Linked DNA regions of Homo sapiens: region 1 is linked to region 2. Evidence: promoter capture Hi-C in human tissues and cell types (Jung and others, 2019). All regions are on one chromosome and are shown on one strand. Each heading gives the region's core, a stretch centred on a gene start or on the middle of the fragment in contact. The rest is flanking DNA. Distances are from core to core; before and after follow the strand shown.

Evidence for each region. Contacts are between HindIII fragments. The study calls those that stand out against the background at their distance.
Region 1: a contact is called between a fragment that was not itself captured here and the fragment with the promoter of CDC42BPB in region 2, in 2 of the 25 tissues and cell types used here (dorsolateral prefrontal cortex and small bowel).

What each region holds. Positions count from the first base shown.
Region 1 is chr14:102,512,452-102,516,184 of GRCh38, reverse strand. It overlaps LOC105370679 (a long non-coding RNA gene), which reads right to left. Exons shown (of 4, transcript XR_007064352.1): 2 at 3,371-3,733; 3 at 2,851-2,954; 4 at 1,831-1,983. Among named protein-coding and RNA genes, the nearest start is that of ANKRD9, 4.5 kb to the right of the region's middle. The HindIII fragment of the contact is 6,246 bases long and covers 1-3,733 here.
Region 2 is chr14:103,056,246-103,059,938 of GRCh38, reverse strand. CDC42BPB (CDC42 binding protein kinase beta) reads left to right here and starts at 2,390. Exons shown (of 37, transcript NM_006035.4): 1 at 2,390-2,940. The coding sequence starts at 2,766. RefSeq lists an enhancer at 1,253-1,903 and silencers at 1,899-2,008, 2,049-2,548, 2,639-2,718. The HindIII fragment of the contact is 24,533 bases long and covers 1-3,693 here.

The sequences.
Region 1 (3,733 bases), core at 49-2,548, 540 kb after region 2:
CTTCCAGCCTGGGCGACTCCGTCTCAAAAAAAAAAAAAGAAAGAAAGAAAATACAAAATTCAGCTAAATTCTTTTTTTTTTTTTTTTTTTTTTTGAGATGGAGTCTCGTTCTGTCACCCAGGCTGGAGTGCAGTGGCGCCATCTCGGCTCACTGCAACCTCTGCCTCCCGGGTGCAGGTGATTCTCCTGCTTCAGCCTCCCGAGTAGCTGGGATTACAGGTGCCCACCACCATGCCTGGCTAATTTTTTTTTGTATTTTTAGTAAAGACGGGGTTTCACCATGTTGGCCAGGCTGGTCTCAAACTCCTGACCTCAGGTGACCTGCCTGTCTCAGCCTACCGAAGTGCTGGGATTCCAGGTGTGAGCCACTGCCCCCGGCTGCTAAATTATTTTATGAAACATTAAATAATTAAGTCAGTTGAGGTGGCTCACACCTGTAATTCCAGCACTTTGGGAGGTTGAGGCAGGAGGATCGCTTAAGCTCAGGAGTTCAAGACCAGCCTGAGCAACATAGCAAGACCTGGTGTCATGTCTACAAAAATAAAAATTAAAAAATTTATTTTTTGTGTGTGGTGGCCATGTGCCTATAGTCCCAGCTACCTGGGAGGCTGAGGTGAGAGGATCACTTGAGCCCAGGAGAGTGAGGCTGCAGTGAGCTATGATTGCACCACTGCACTCCAGCCTGGGCAACAGAGCAAGACCCTGTCTCAAAAAAAAAAAAAAAAAAAAAAGCAAGAGAACAAAATCCACAGCAGTGAGCATTGTATTGTATATGTAACTTAGTACACAGGCAGGTATTCACCTGTGATAAGATGCCTACAGAAGGATCTGCCGGGCCCCCAAGCATGTGAGTTTTCCCTGCTGGTGGGGCAAGTGCCTGAGTCCTAACCCGGCCAGCACGGGCTTTCCCAGTCTACTCAGTTTTCGCCAGGAGCCTGTACACGTGCTGATTCCTGGCAAAGCTGAATGTCTATCTCCACGTGTCTGTTGGCCAGCATGTGGATAACCTATGGTGCCCTCGCCCATCTTCCCCCGGGCCGATCTTCCAGCTATGTTGGGGGCTCCCTGCACACTTGAGACGCCACTCCTTGGCTATACATGCTGGACCCTTCGGCTCCCAGGATGTCCCTTGTCTCCACTGGTTTTGTCCTGTCTTTGGTCTGTACTGGCATCCCAAAGCTGAGCCTTGAGAGACCAGCTGATGGGGCTGCAGACGCGGTGGGGCAGAGCCCAGCCTGCCACCGTAGGAGGGAGTAGTAGTGGCTCCTGGTGCAGGTGCCAGTCTTAAAGGCCAGGTGAGCTTTGGTCTGGTCTGGCCAGGCAGTGGAAGGACAGAACCTGCATGAGGTGGGGCAAGTGTTGGGACACCCCCAGGCTCTCACCCGGTCCTAGCCACTCCGCATGCTGGCCTTGCCAGTCTTGCCACATGAAACACCTTCCCTCTGACACCCAAAATCCACCTGACCCATGTCACAGATAAGTGACTGGTGCTCAGCCCAGTCCCACCACTGGTGGGTGGCTGATTAGGCGGGATCCAGCATGTCTGGTGCCAGCCCCTCCCTGAGGAAGCTGCCTGCCCTCCTGCCTGCACCTGTGGTGCCTTCCTGGCCGCGGCCACCTGTCCCATCCCAGTTGCGCAGATGGCAGGCTCCGCAGGCCTGGCTGGGTGGCAGGGGCTCAGGTCAGAGAGGATCTCAGTGTAGTCAGCAAATGAAGCCCTCTCCTCCAGCCCCCTCCCCACCATCCACCCCTTCCTATTCTCAGCAGATGGCCTTGAAAATAGAAGCCACCAGAGCAGATGTCTCCGAGCACCTTTACCTGTGCCCTCCTCTGTGTCTGTGCCCAACATGCTGCCCCCCCCCAAGAAGAACTGCCCATGTCGCCAGCCCAGGGTACCCCTCACGTGTGGCAGGCCCCACTCCAGCCGGCCTCCTCCAGGTTATCAGCTGGCCTGCATCGTCAGCGTTTTTGCCCATCAGCGCACTGCACACATAATGGACACACAGGACACACAAATGCAGGCTGCAGCATGCTGCCCACGCACACGCATGCACACACAGCGTGCCGCCCATGATGCACAGATGCATGTGTGGGCCTACCCACGTGTCTGAGTGCACATACATGCATGTGCACGTGTGTTATCTCCACCGTTTCATTCTTTAAGCCTGCCCCTTCCTCTCCTGTCCTCACAGCTCTATCCCGCTCCCCGCTTGCTCCTGAACTCTCTCCAAACAGGTTTCTCCCCTAACCCCATGACATTCTGTAAAGGGCACTGTGACCTATGGACCGAGTTTTGCTCTTGTTGCCCGGGCTGGAATGCAATGGCGCGATCTCAGTTTACCGCAACCTCCCGCCTCCTGGGTTCAAGCGATTCTCCTGCCTCAGCCTACCGAGTAGCTGGGATTACAGGCATGCACCACCAGGCCTAATTTTGTGTTTTTAGTAGCGACAGGGTTTCACCATGTTGGTCAGGCTGGTCTTGAACTCCTGACCTCAGGTGATCTGTCCGCCTCGGACTCCCAAAGTTCTGGGATTACAGGTGTGAGCCACCACATCTGAATCTGTCCCAGCCGACCGCTCCCTTATTTTTGGGACACCTTGGCTTCGGGAAGCCCTGTGCCTTCTTGGCCCCAAGACCCTCTCCCACCTCCTTTCCTGGAAGCCCCGGCTGGGGCCTCGGGCCTCTCACCTCCCATCCCTGGTGCCTCACACTCCAAGCGCCCTCTTTATACTCATGACCCCATCTCCAGGGCCATGGACACCTCTTGGCTCTGCCATCTTCCAGGTGCTCAGCTTTCCCCTAATACCCGGGAGGCCTCCTAGATTCTCCTCTTCTGCTCACACCCTCACCTATAGGTCAGGGGCCTGGCAGGAGGCGGCACTTCTCTCCAGGGACCCCTGGTGCCCTCCGCCTGCTCCAGCACAGTTGGCTTCAGTGGCTGCGGCCTCTCCGTCTCCCTGCAGTGCATACTCAACTAGAGTTGTCGAGAAAACCTAAGCCGGCCATACCACCCCTCCGAGGGCCCTTCCCACTCCCCAGCGTCCTCACACACTTTCCGGGGCCTCTGTGCTTGCAGCCCCAGCCTCCCCCTACTGCCTGTGGCTCCCTGCCTGGGCACACACAGACCCCTGCCCTGGTGGGACAAGCCCTCCCAGAGGAAGAGGAGTGTGCCTGGGTCAGGTCCCAGCAGGAGCATGATGGGGTCAAAGGTCAACTCCTATCCCAAGATGGCAAGACCCCCCTCCGCCCTCCACCTGGGGCTTCCTAGGTGTTTGGAAGTCATGCTCTGCCCATTCCCCTGCCCCAGCCACCCTCCCCGCAGCCCATCCTCCCTCCCTGAGGAACCTGCCCCTTCACAGCTGTTCACACGTCCCTGGGCAGCCTCTAGTGCAGCAGCGATGCCATGAAACCACCGTGGAGGGCACCATCAGCCTTGGCACTGCTGCCTTAGGAGGTGCAGCATGTCCACACTCATGCCCACAGGGGACAGCTTTCATCAGAAGACACTGCAGCAGAGATGGCGGCTGCAACCCAAAGCAGGGGGTTCCCCTGGGGCTGGATCTAAAAGTGACCTCAGGAGAAAAAGGCAAGAGGCTGAGGTGAGGCAGTGCTGTGGAGCCCCATGGCAGGGAGTGTTACTATGTCTGCTGCCACTTGCACTTACAGTGGGAAAGACGCACGCGGACTCACACTGAGGCTGGCTGGGGAGGGAGGGGACAGGCACGCAGGGCT
Region 2 (3,693 bases), core at 1,141-3,640:
TGTTCACTAATGTTGGGGCGAGGAGTGTGCCAGTGTTTCCTGAGGACAGATGTGAGCTGGGTGGATGAGCAAGCACAAGACCCATGGATCCATTTAGGTCCTGTCCAAAAGTCCCTCAGGAAGGGCAGAGGGCCCCTCCCCTCCACAGCCACCAGGTAAGCATCCACCCAGTGGCACATCTGCTTGAGTTAAGGGGACTTCAGGAGACAAAGCAGCAGGGAACCACCGAGGAGCCCATGAATGTTCCCAGGAGAGACAGGGTCAGCTTTACCCTCTGCCAATCCAGATGGGATTGGAGCCCTTCCCCACTTCTCCCTTTCTCCCTTCCCGGTGGTGGTTCTAGATGGGTGGAAGTGGGCTGAGCGAGCCGAGGGAGGTTTGGGGAAGGAGATGGCACCAGGCACAGCCCCCTTTCCCCTTGCTCATCTCAGGCCCTAAGGGGTCCAAGGGGGAAGATTTAACTTTGATTTTGAGCCAGGTGATCTGCTCAGACTTTTTAAAAAAAACTTTTAAGGTGTCATACACAAATAGTAACATGCAAATATTTAGAATACAGTTTGATGAATTTATACACATTTACAGACCCAACGTTACAAAACGGCTGTGCTGAAGATACAGAATGTTCCCAGCCCCCTAGAGGCCTCTCCTTGTGCCTCCTTCCAGTTGATACCCCAAAGGCAACCAGTACTCTCACCTCTAACGCCAGATTGTTCTCACCTGCCTTTAAGAAATGAAGGTATTATATATACATACACACAGTGACATGCACTCATCTTAAGAAGACAGTTTGAAGAATGTTTACTTATGCGTGCTCCCATGTAACTACTACCCAAATCCAGGCATAGAACATTACCAGCAGCCCAGAAGGTTCCTCCTCTTGTTCCAGTCAACAACTCCGGCATAGGCAGCCACTCCTCTTCTTCTTCTTCTTCTTCTTATTATTATTACTATTATTAAGACGGAGTCGTGCTCTGTTGCCCATGCTGGAGTGCAGTGGAGCGATCTTGGCTCACTGCACTTTCGCCTCCCGGGTTCAAGTAATTCTCCTGCCTTAGCCTCTCGAGTAGCTGGGACTACAGGCGCGCGCCACCACGCCCGGCTAGTTTTTTGTATTTTAGTAGAGACGGGGTTTCACCGTGTTGCCCAGGCTGGTCTCGAAGTCCTGAGCTCAGGCAATCCGCCCACCTCGGCCTCCTAAAGTGCTGGGATTACAGGTGTGAGCCACCGCGCCAGGCCCACTCCTATTTTTAGCTCCAGAGATTAGTTTTGCTTCAGGCTCCCTTAACGTCCTGCTTCAAACCCCTATCTGCCCCTTCATCGGCTCCACCTGGAGGCCACCGCTTCCACGGAAGCATGACCCCTTCCCCTGCACCCGCGCGCCCCAGAAGCTCTCAGATACCCCCACGATTTCGGTGACCTTCCGCAAGCTCCAGGAAAAGCCCCTCCTCTCCTGACGCCAAGGGTTTGTTGGGGTTGGGGGGTATCTCCATCAGCCTCCCTCCCCCAGCCACCCAAATTAACCAACAATCTTAGTAAATGCAGCGACTCGCTAGGCAAACCCAGCCTGGAGACAAATATCCGGCCCCTTTCCTACCAAACTGTCACACCTAGGCATTGGTCTGCAGGGAGGGCTGGACAGTGGAAACTGAAACCCTCTGCAAGCCATCACGAATCCACCGGGCACTGGGGACGCTGGCTCCCGCCTTGGCAGCATCCCCCAGAAGCCTGGGCCCTGACCCCACACCGTCTGGGCCTCAGTCTCTCATCGGTAAAGTCAGGGGTAGGGCCCGAGTCTTCCAGGACCGCTTCGAGCTGGGACAAGCCGTTTTAAATAGCCCACAACCCGCCGAGGCCATCAGAGCTGCGCCTGCCGGGCCGCCCTCGACCCCCACCTCGGCCGGGCAGGTCCGAGGCCCCGCAGGCAACATGGGCCCGCGGACTGCGGGACGGGGCTCGACGGCCTGAGATCGCGACTCTGCCTCTCCGATACTTGGGGTCGTCTTCGGCCCCGGGATCCGCGACGCGCGCGGTCGGACCCCGAATACTGAAGGCACCGGGTCCGCAGGGCGAAGGCGCACACGCCCACCAGGCGCGCTCTGCGCATGCGCGGGCTCCGCAATCTCAGCGGCCCACTCGCCCCGCCCCGCCCCCCCCACCCCCACCCCGCGCCGCTCCCCAGGCCCGGCCCTGCCTTCCCAGCATCCCGGCTCCCTACGGCAAGCGGCGAGGCCCGAGCCCGCCGGGAGCAGGGAGCCGGGCGCGGGGCGGGGCGGCGCGCTGAGGTCAGCGCGGCGGCGGCCGGCCCCGTAGTGGTTGGCTGCGCTGGTGCTGGCCGCGCCCTGGTTGGCTGCGGGCCGCGGGGCTGGGCCGCCGGGTCGGGGCTGGGGTCGGGCTCGGGCGCCGGCCGGGCTTGCGCAGCGCTAGGCTCCTCGCCGCTCCTAGTCTGCGGCGGCGGCGGCGGGGAGGGCGCGGCCGCGGGCGGGGCTGAGGGCGGCGGGGGCGGGCCGCCCGAGCTGGGAGGGCGGCGGCGCCGAGGGGAGGAGAGCGGCCCATGGACCCGCGGGGCCCGGCGCCCCAGACTCTGCGCCGTCGGGACGGAGCCCAAGATGTCGGCCTAGGCCGGGGCGCGACGACGCGGACGGGGCGGCGAGGAGGCGCCGCTGCTGCCGGGGCTCGCAGCCGCCGAGCCCCCGAGGGCGCGCCCTGACGGACTGGCCGAGCCGGCGGTGAGAGGCCGGCGCGTCGGGAGCGGGCCGCGCGGCACCATGTCGGCCAAGGTGCGGCTCAAGAAGCTGGAGCAGCTGCTCCTGGACGGGCCCTGGCGCAACGAGAGCGCCCTGAGCGTGGAAACGCTGCTCGACGTGCTCGTCTGCCTGTACACCGAGTGCAGCCACTCGGCCCTGCGCCGCGACAAGTACGTGGCCGAGTTCCTCGAGTGGGGTAAGTGCGCGCCGGCAGGGCCGGACCTGCGGCTCTGCGACCCCCGCGCCCCAGCCCGCGCATCCCCACGCCCGCCCATCCCCGCCCGGACAGACCCTGCCGCCCTCCTGCCCACCCAGCTCGTGGGCTTCGCCTCCTCTCGCTCTGGCAGCGCCCCCAGGCCCGCAGCCCATCTCTCTCCAGCCGCTCCTTGCACCCTCGTCCCTCCGCTAGCTTTTCATCCCTCCTTGCCCTCCCTAGGCTCGACATCCGCGTTCGATCGTCCCGCCCCCTCATCCTGCCCCTTGGAGCCACATCCTACGTTCCCACTCCCACCCCCTCCCCCCCGCCGGGCCCTCGCCCTGGCGGCTTCCTAGATCCACCCTCCGAGTCTGGATATCATTTCCTGCAGCACTCACTGGGATATCCGCCCCCGCCCCCGCCCCCGCCCCCGCACCTCGCCTTTGGGGTCCGGAGGCAGTGTGGAATTAGTTCCCTTTCCCCACCCCACGCTTCTCTGCGTTGTGGGGGCAGCTGGGTGTGCTTTCTGCATCTGCCTCGCCCACTGCCCCGTGGGACCCCCTTGCATCCCCAGGGAGCCCAGCTCTAACGGCCCCTCCTGGGTGACAGCCTGTCTACATCCCCTTGTTGGTCAGAGCCTGAATACCTACTTTGCTGTAACACCTTCAAGGGAATTTTAAGGTTAAGGCTTTATTTTAAATAAACCGTGCAAGAGGACTTTTTTTTTTTAATTCCAATTCTGCTAGACCTTTG